Regions from separate parts of the Homo sapiens genome. Here region 2 is linked to region 1. Evidence: promoter capture Hi-C in 16 types of primary human blood cells and fetal thymus (Javierre and others, 2016). All regions are on one chromosome and are shown on one strand. The core of a region is centred on a gene start or on the middle of the fragment in contact, and the rest is flanking DNA. Distances in the headings are between cores, read along the strand shown.

Evidence for each region. The method cuts DNA at HindIII sites, captures the fragments that hold promoters and counts their contacts. A CHiCAGO score of 5 or more calls a contact.
Region 2: a contact is called between the fragment with the promoter of NDUFA5 here and the fragment with the promoter of GPR37 in region 1, in 7 of 17 cell types (M2 macrophages, M0 macrophages, M1 macrophages and 4 more). The highest score is 15.0, in M2 macrophages.

The regions. Positions count from the first base shown.
Region 1 is chr7:124,764,299-124,768,627 of GRCh38, forward strand. GPR37 (G protein-coupled receptor 37) reads right to left here and starts at 1,494. Exons shown (of 2, transcript NM_005302.5): 1 at 1-1,494. The coding sequence starts at 678. RefSeq lists a silencer at 1,506-1,635. The HindIII fragment of the contact is 5,609 bases long and covers 1-3,947 here.
Region 2 is chr7:123,555,304-123,559,627 of GRCh38, forward strand. NDUFA5 (NADH:ubiquinone oxidoreductase subunit A5) reads right to left here and starts at 2,515. Exons shown (of 5, transcript NM_005000.5): 1 at 2,472-2,515; 2 at 2,101-2,145. The coding sequence starts at 2,492. RefSeq lists enhancers at 1,645-2,223, 1,788-2,987, 2,224-2,802, 2,543-2,592, 2,853-2,992. The HindIII fragment of the contact is 10,047 bases long and covers 1-3,513 here.

The DNA.
Region 1 (4,329 bases), core at 244-2,743:
ACCCAAGGATCCATTCTGGGCCAGCGCCCGGCCCGGGAGTGCAATTGTCCACCCTTCGTGCCCCGCCAGTCCATTGGCCGTCTTGGACAGGGGCTTGTGGTGGGAACCCTGGAGTTTCCCGGCTCTCCTTGGCCAGTAAAAAAGATCGCTGGCTCCGGGGACTGTCTTCACACTCTGCTCCTGGCTACGCCCGGAAATGCCAGCGCCTCTGGGACCCTTCTCTTCCTCCTCTGAGATCTGAAGGAAGAGCTGGAGGGCCGTGGGGTTCCCTCTCCCCAAAGTTTCAGAAGGCTCCTGACCCCGAGCACCTTTCCACCTCCAGGGGCCAGGTGGCCTGGTTGGAGGTCCCGGGGGTCCGGCTGCCGACGCCTCCGCCCCTCTGCCTGCAGCCGGGTCACGGCCCGGGGCCGCCGGCAGGTCCCAGGAGGGTCCCGCAAGAAACGCTGCCCCCTGCTCCTCCCTGGGTGCTCGGGCTCGCAGAACGTCTCTTGCAGAATTTCCCGGTCCCCAGGCGTCCCTGCCGCGGCGCTGGATCACTGTAGGTGCACAGCTCTCCCCCAGACAAGTTTCGTTTCTGGACGCAGGGGCGACCCCGAGGGCAGAAGAGGCAGACACCTTGAGCAGTAGCAGAAGCAGTAGCCGCGACATGCGGGCGAGAAGCGCGCCCGGGGCTCGCATGGCTTGGTGAGGGCACACCCGGCAGCCGCAGCTCCTGCTTAGTTAGGATCGACACCTGCTGCCGAAGTTGCTGCTGAGAGTTAGGCACATGTCACATACTCACCCCCGCCCGGGTAGCGGGGAACCGGAGATTAGGGTGATAGCGGAAGATCGGTCTTGGGGGTCACACACACGCCCCCTATAATCCTTCCTCCTTTGGCATCTTGTGCATTTCTCAGCCAAGTTGAGTCCCAGCAAGGTATGCCCTCCAAGGTTCCTAGAGGGAATAGGCTACTCCCGGTGGCTGACCTTGAAAAGTTGCAATCAACACCTGACTGTTGATTACTGTTGAGACTCGGGGGAGCCCAGACGAAGCCCCACACTCCTCACTGCCTTTGGGTGGGGGTGGTGGCCTTCTTGGTAACAGTTGCTCTGCCTATTTACATCCTTTCGACAGCGTTTGATCCAGTTGCAAGCCGAGGTCTCTAGAGGAAAAGAAAAACAAGTCCCCCTCCCCCAGACGACTCGCAGTCACAACCCCGCTCCCAGCTCGCTGGAAACACGTTGCAAACAGTCCGAAGCAGCGCTGATGCGCCGGCGAAACTCTTGCCCCACCTAACCCCAGCGACTTGCGAGCCTACTGCTGCCGAGGAGAAGCGGGATTCCAACCCCGCGGCCACTGCCAAAGTTGCTTCTCCTCCAGCTCAAAGTTGACGACGGGGCGAAGCAGGCTGCTGGACGGCGTGCCGCCGCAGAGAAGGAAATCGTGGGGAGAAGGGGGAGAAGAGGGCGCCGCTCGTCGGTGGACAGTGCCGCTAGCCGCGGGAGCTAGTCACTGCCACAGCGGGCTCAGCCCGGACGGGAAGGGTGGTGCCTGGAACCGCCGCGGGCCAGGCAGTGCGCGGCCGGGAAGGGGAGGTGGCCCGGCCTCGCCCCCGCGCTCCAGCCGCTGCGCGCGCCCGCGAAGCTCGACTCTCGGCTCGTTGCCTCCTCCCACTCCTTCGCCTCCTCCTCGGAGAGATACTGGTTTGTGGGGAGACGGGATCCCCTGGTGGTTCACCACTCACTAAACCCACACACGTTTCATTCAAGCCATTTGTAGCGGCTTCCACTCGGAGGAGCTGGGAGGGAACAAGGGCGGAGGCGCGGAGCCTGCGCGGCTCGAGGCTAGGGATGGGCGGGACAGGTTAATTCCCCAGCTGTCGAAACCAGCCTGACAGGTCCCCGAGCCCGGGCTAGGGGCGGGTGCGGGGCGGGAGTGGGGGGTGGGGGTGGGAACGGGAATATGAGAGCGGTCGGGGGAGGGAAGAGAGGAGGGTAGCAGGGGAGTGAGCAGCAGGGTCCCCTCCAATCTGTTGCGGCTGATGCGCATGCCCAGGTCTCAGCTCTGGGGGGCGAGGGGCGGGGCGGGGGAGGGGCGGACGGGGGTTGGGCCGCGGGGAGTAAGAAGGTGAAACCTCACCTCCTCAGGTATTCCCTAGAGATAGGAGAGAATGGGAGCTCAGAGGTGTCAGTCATAGAGAATTACCAGTTCCAGGATTGAGATGCAGAGCGAGAAAGCTCAGGATGCACCATTACCTTTAACACTGAGTTGGGAAGCATCCTACCATGGGTTACTTCGTACCACCCAGAGCATAGTGAGGTAGTTGTATTTGATGAAGTAGTGGGAAATGACTGGAGGCAGAAAATTACTCGAACAGCACTCCCAGCACGGCTGTCCATGCCTTTCCAACCTTTCTACTATATCCCACAACCCTGTCAAAACTGTCAGGGCATAGCTAATAAAATAGACAAATTAATGAAGAGAAAATGATAGAGGAAGAAATAAACACATTCTGAATTTTTTTTTTAAACAGAGTCTTGCTGTGTCGCCCAGGCTGGAGTGCAGTGGTGCGATCTCGACTCACTGCAACCTCCGCCTCCCCGGGTTCAAGCGATTCTCCTGCCTCAGCCTCCCAAGTAGCTGAGACTACAGGCACCCGCCACCATGCCCGGCTAATTTTTTTTGTATTTTTAGCAGAGACGGGGTTTCACTATGTTGGCCAGGCTGGTCTTGAGCTCCTGACCTCGTGATCCGCCCGCCTCGGCCTCCCAAAGCGCTGGCATTACAGGCGTGAGCCATCACACCCGGCCTGAATTTTTTTAAAGCAACACATCTAGAGAGGCAGGAGAAAACACAATGGAACATATGATACCAATTGTGGTAAATAGAATAATGCCCCCCCAAAAAAATGTCCGAATCCTAATTCCTAATACCTGTGAGTATGTTACCTTACAGAGCAAAAGGGATTTTGCCAATGCAATTCAGCTAAGACTCTTGAGATGGGGAGAGTATCGTGATTATCCAGGTGGGTACACTATAATCACAAGAGCCCTTACAAATGAGAGGCAGGAGGGTCAGAGTAAAAACAAACACAAGCCAAGTGATGTGGGCAATCTCTGGAAGCTAGAATGGGCATAAAAAAGGATCTACTAGCCCATTTGAGACTTCTGACCTCCATAACTGTAAGATAATGAATGTGTGTTGTTTTAAGCCACAAAATTTATGGTTATTTGTTGCAGTAGCAATAGTAAACTAATACACCATTAAATCTAAAAATGGAGACAACAGGAATAATTGTATAGAAAAACATAAACTACCAAAAATAGTTCAAGAAGAAAATTTTCAGAAACTGTAATCGAACTATAACATTAAAGAAATCAAATCATTCATCAAGATCTACCCAGAGGAAAGTGCTAGACCTTAGCATATCCTGCGGAATAAATATACATTTATACAAAATGTTTTAAAGCTACTCAGTTCATTTTGTGAAGGCAGAATAACCTTAATGTCAAAATCAGACAAAGCCAGAAATAGGAAAAAATATAAGCTAATAGCACACATTCATTTGTACATTAATTCATTCATTTATATACACTAACTCATTCTCTCAAATTCACTACTTCATTAAAGAAATATTCTGCTCAAGTTACTTAGGTCAGAGCAGTGAATAAAATAAAGTTCTGCTCTCACTGAATTTATATTTTCTTGTATACTCATAAAAAGGACAAACTAGGCTTATGTGTATCACCAAGACTGAATCTCAGAAACATAAATGTAAGGGAAAAACGTAGAACTTGATGTGTTAACTATATAATGCTACCATTTGTGTAGCTCTTAAAATGCACATAAAACAATTTGATAATCATACATGGTGTATCATATAAAATATGTGAATGGAATAAATACAGATCAACTTCAGAATATTAGTCACCTCAGGAAATAGAAGAATGGTCATGGGATGGAAGGAAGCTTCTACTCTAACTGTAGTATCTTGTTTCTTTAAAAAAAATTTAGAAGAGGGAAATCTGGATTAATAATGAAACAGGAAAAATAAGTTGCCAAAATGAAACAGTGATATAGCTTCCCTTCTCATCTCATTAGCTTAGAGTTTAAGTTACACATGTAAGATATGTTTCTATCCTTTTTACTCTAGACCACATAAATGTGTCACTAATCTCTATCACTACACAGAAAGGAATCAAAGCTAAACAGGGAAAAATCCCTTTACCTGCTCCCTTAGAAGCTCCATTGTAATTCACACATGCTTGGCCCAGAGTTGGGCATCATTCTTAAAGTGGTGGGCTATAGAACTCAGGTACCATGCTTGGAGAGTGGCTGGGGAAAGGCCT
Region 2 (4,324 bases), core at 1,265-3,764, 1.2 Mb before region 1:
ACAAGGCAGAAAGGCCAGTAAGGAGGTTGTTGCAATTCTCTAAACAAGAACAAGGACCTGAACTATGGTAGTAACAATAGAAATAGTAAACAGAAGTCAGACTGGAGAGCTGTTATAGAAAAGGATCAGCAAAAAAAATAAAAATAAAAATCATCATTGGAATGAATATGAGAGTACAAGTATAAGAGAAATACCAACTATGATGTCCAAATTCCCAGCCTAGGGAGTAGAAAGATCTGAAACTATCAAGAAAAATACAGCCCACAGAGGAAGAAATATATTTAGAAGGGAAAAACCATGAGTTCAGTTCTTTACATCAATGACAATAAAGTTATTATGAAATCATAGGAAGTGCAAGACACTCATTCAACTAACACTATTTACTGAGCACATACTATGTGACAGAGTTCTAGCAGTGAAACAATTACAAATCCCTGCCTTCATGAAACCTACATTCTAGTAGAGACATAACAAAATAAATCAGTAGAATAGTGAACCAGAGGGTCACAGTAAGAAACTTGTCTTTATTTAGAGTGAAATGGAAAGCCATTAGTTTTAAGGAAAGGAGAGATCTGACCTACCTCATATTTTAACAGACTAACTCTAGTAGCCTGGCTGGAAAAAAAGACCAAATGGAGGCTGTGACAAGCATTGAGAGGCAGTTAAGAAGTGAATGCAATTATCCACATCAGTGATGATGGTGACTGAGGAAGAGGGTAGTAGCAGAGGAGGTAGTGAGATGTTGTCAAAATCAAGATATATTTTGAAGGTGGAACCTAGAGGGTTTACTGAAATAACAAATGTGGAGTGTAAGAGAAAGGAAGGAATCAAAGATGATTTCAAGTTTCTGACCTGAGTCAAAATAATTGAGCTGCCATTAATTGAGATGAGCAAGACTGAGAGAAGAGCAGGTTTTAGGCAGAAGATCAGGAACCCCATTTTGGACATGTTAAGTTTGGGTTGCCTGTCTGACACATACAAATAGAGATGCCCACTAAGCAATTAAATATTCAGGACTTTTATAAAGGAAGAGGTCAGTGCTTTACATGGAAATCTGTTGTCAGTGTATAGGTGGTATTTAAAACCGTTCTCTATTTGGATTTGCTCTCTCTTGGTGACAGAGTACAGGTCCAAAAGAAAAGGTCCAAGAACTAAATCCTGACTAACTCAAATTTTAAAAGTGGGCATAAGAGAAATAACCAGAAAAAGAGAAAGCCAAAGAGTAGGGGGAAAAAATCAGGAGACTGGGGGAGTCCTGAAGCCCAGTAAAGAAAGCGCATGATGGAAAAAGTGTCAAATGTGTCAAAAAAAAAAAAACGCTGCTATTAGGTCAATGAAGGTGAGAAACATAAGCTGACCATTGGATTTGGCAACATGGAGATAACTGGTGAACTTGAAAAGAGCGTGATGGAAAAAGTGTCAAATGTGTCAAAAAACGCTGCTATTAGGTCAATGAAGGTGAGAAATATGAGCTGACCATTGGATTTGGCAGCATGGAGATAATTGGTGAACTTGAAAAACGCCAAGGGTGACTGAGTGCATTCAAGGGTGAATAAGAAAGAAATTGGAGAAAATAGAGATAACTCTTTTGAGTTATCTGTAAAGTGAAGCAAAGAAATGGTGTGATTATAGAAGGGACAAGAAGAATAAAAAAATTTTGTGGGTTTTTTTGATGAAAACATTCGTGAATACAGATGGAAAAGACCTAACAGAAGGAAAAGGGGGCAGTACCTTTAGTAAGCCTAAATATATGTAATCCAACGCACCTAAGCAGAAACGGTAAGGCAAGGAGAAAAGATGGAAAACGGAGATATAAATTTGAGATGGCGCTGACAGAAGCAAGCACAAGTGAAGCCATGAAAATGTCAAGGAAAAAGTCAACAAGAAAACTGGCTTAATAAAGAGGTCATGGCAAAAATAAATAAAAATGTGACATCGGATCAACGAAGTAGGTGGACAGCGCCCGTGTCTCAAGAGCTCACGCGGCTTGTAATTAAGGGCTTGAAACATCTGTATCCCGTTAACCCTGCAATAAGCAAAGTGACAGGAATTTAGTCTTCCTTGGGAATTCAAGAACGAAGAAAGAACAAAGGTACATACCTCGTGAGGAGTATTGCACACAGCCAATCCCACAAGGCCAGTGGTCTGTTCAAAAACAAAACACGATTCATGCTGTTTACTACGGTTTCCATACATCCAGCACGCTAAGGAAATACAAAACCACGAATCCCCCGGCTAAAACTGGTCTAAAGCCAGCTACTGGTCTCTCAGTCTCGCTTGTTTGGAGCTTTTTTCCTGACTCTCGGAGCGGAACCACTAACCTGCCCTACCCGGTAAGGCATGCAGAACGAGTCCCCGAAAAGCACCGCCGAGCCCGCGACAGTAGGGGTCAACACCCGCGGGAAGTAGGGCTATCGGACTGAGTCTACCCCCACAGTCTAAATTCCAACAGTGACCTCCATTCGTCTCACCTTCTTCAGCACACCCGCCATGACAGCGCCAACGACTCGGTGACGCACAACCCTTTGGGAACAATTCTCAGACCTGCTCAATCGACCACCGAGGTCGCCACTCTGTCACCCTGGAAACAGCTTAGCTCCACCCCTTCAGGATCGCCAAAGGAGCAAAGACTCTGCCCCGCCCATCTTAAAAGAGAAAAATTGACGCATGCGCGATGGGCATACAAGCCTAAAGCTAAGCTAGAAGACGATTGGGGAAAGAAAGGGTTTCCCAGCTGTCTGTTCCTGTTCCTGCCACTGCTGACGGCTTGCCCAAAGATTGAGGGAAACACTCCCAACTACCAAAAAACTCCAGTCGCTGTAGGAACCTGCACTGTGCTTAACCGTTGATGCATTCCTCAACCTTCCTTTCTCAGTTTAGTAAAATGAAAGTGATAACGGAGCTTGAGCATCCTCTGAATTGATCTCTCAACAGCAAGTTAGTTCTTCGCACAAGGATATCAGTATTCTCTGTGTCTTACGAACCAAAGCCCTATGGAGTGTGAGGTCATTTTCCATCGCTCTTTTCGATTTCACTGGCTGAAATACATCATCTTATTTCCAGATGAAATGATATCAGACCATACCACTTTTTCCTACCTCCACAAACACTGACCACTCACTATGTGTCAGTTACTGGGACATAATTTCTAAAATGGGATTTCACATCCTGGAATTCAAAGAATAATGAAGAAGGCGTGTATTAATAAATAATTTGGTAACTGTTCTAAAAGAAGTTGATGCAAAGTGTGATGGTACCAGGGAAAAGGAAATAACTAAAAAGCGTGGGTGACTTTCTAAAAAGTCAGTAGGAGAAAAGAACAAATTGAGAAAACACAAGTACAAAGGAAAAGAGGTTAAAAATGTATATATAAATTCCAGGTGATTTTATGTGATTGGAAAGGTGGGTTTGATTGTTAAGGTAAACTGGTTAAGATTATGAAAGGTGTTGTTTGCCATTATACAAAATTTGAATTTTACTTTTTAAGGAATGGGAACAATGAGAAGACTTTTAAGCTTCTAAGTGACACCATCAAATTTATGTTTCAGATATACAAACAACTTAGGCAACAGTTGAAGAGAATGAGTTGGAAGAGATGAGGCCTTTCATTAGAGGCATGAGACTAGAAAAAATGAAAGCTAAACCAAAAGCAAACAGAAGAAAGGAAATATTAAAGATTAGAAAAGAAGGAGACAGAATATCAATAAAGAAAATCAATGAAACCAGGAATTGGTTCCCTAAAAGGATCAACAAAATTGGCAAACCTTTAGTGAAACTAAGAAAAAAAAGAGAGAAGATTTAATACAAGCAAGAATAAAAGAACCATCACTAATAGCCTTGCTGAAATAAACAGGAATAAGAAGGAATACTATGAACAACTATGCTTAAAAAAGATAAAGTAGATAAAATGGCCAGATTCCTAGAAAAACACAAACTACCTAAATCAACTCAAGAAGGCATAAAGAAAAATCTGACTAGATCTAACATAATTAAAGAAATTGAATTAGCAAGAAAAAAAAAAAAACCTATCCAGAAGGAAAAGCACAGGTCCAGATGGCTTCGCTGGTAAATTCCACTGAACAATTAAAGAATAACACTTAAGAAACTATTCCAAAATATAGAAGAGGAGGAAACAATTAACAACTAATTCTATAAGGCAAGTATTACTCTGATTCCAACCAGACAAAGAAATCAACAAGAAACAAAAACTTCAGCCAGGTGTGGACTCTGATTCCAACCAGACAAAGAAATCAACAAGAAAAGAAAACTTCGGCTGGGCCTGGTGGCTCATGCCTGTAATCCCAGCACTTTGGGAAGCTGAGGC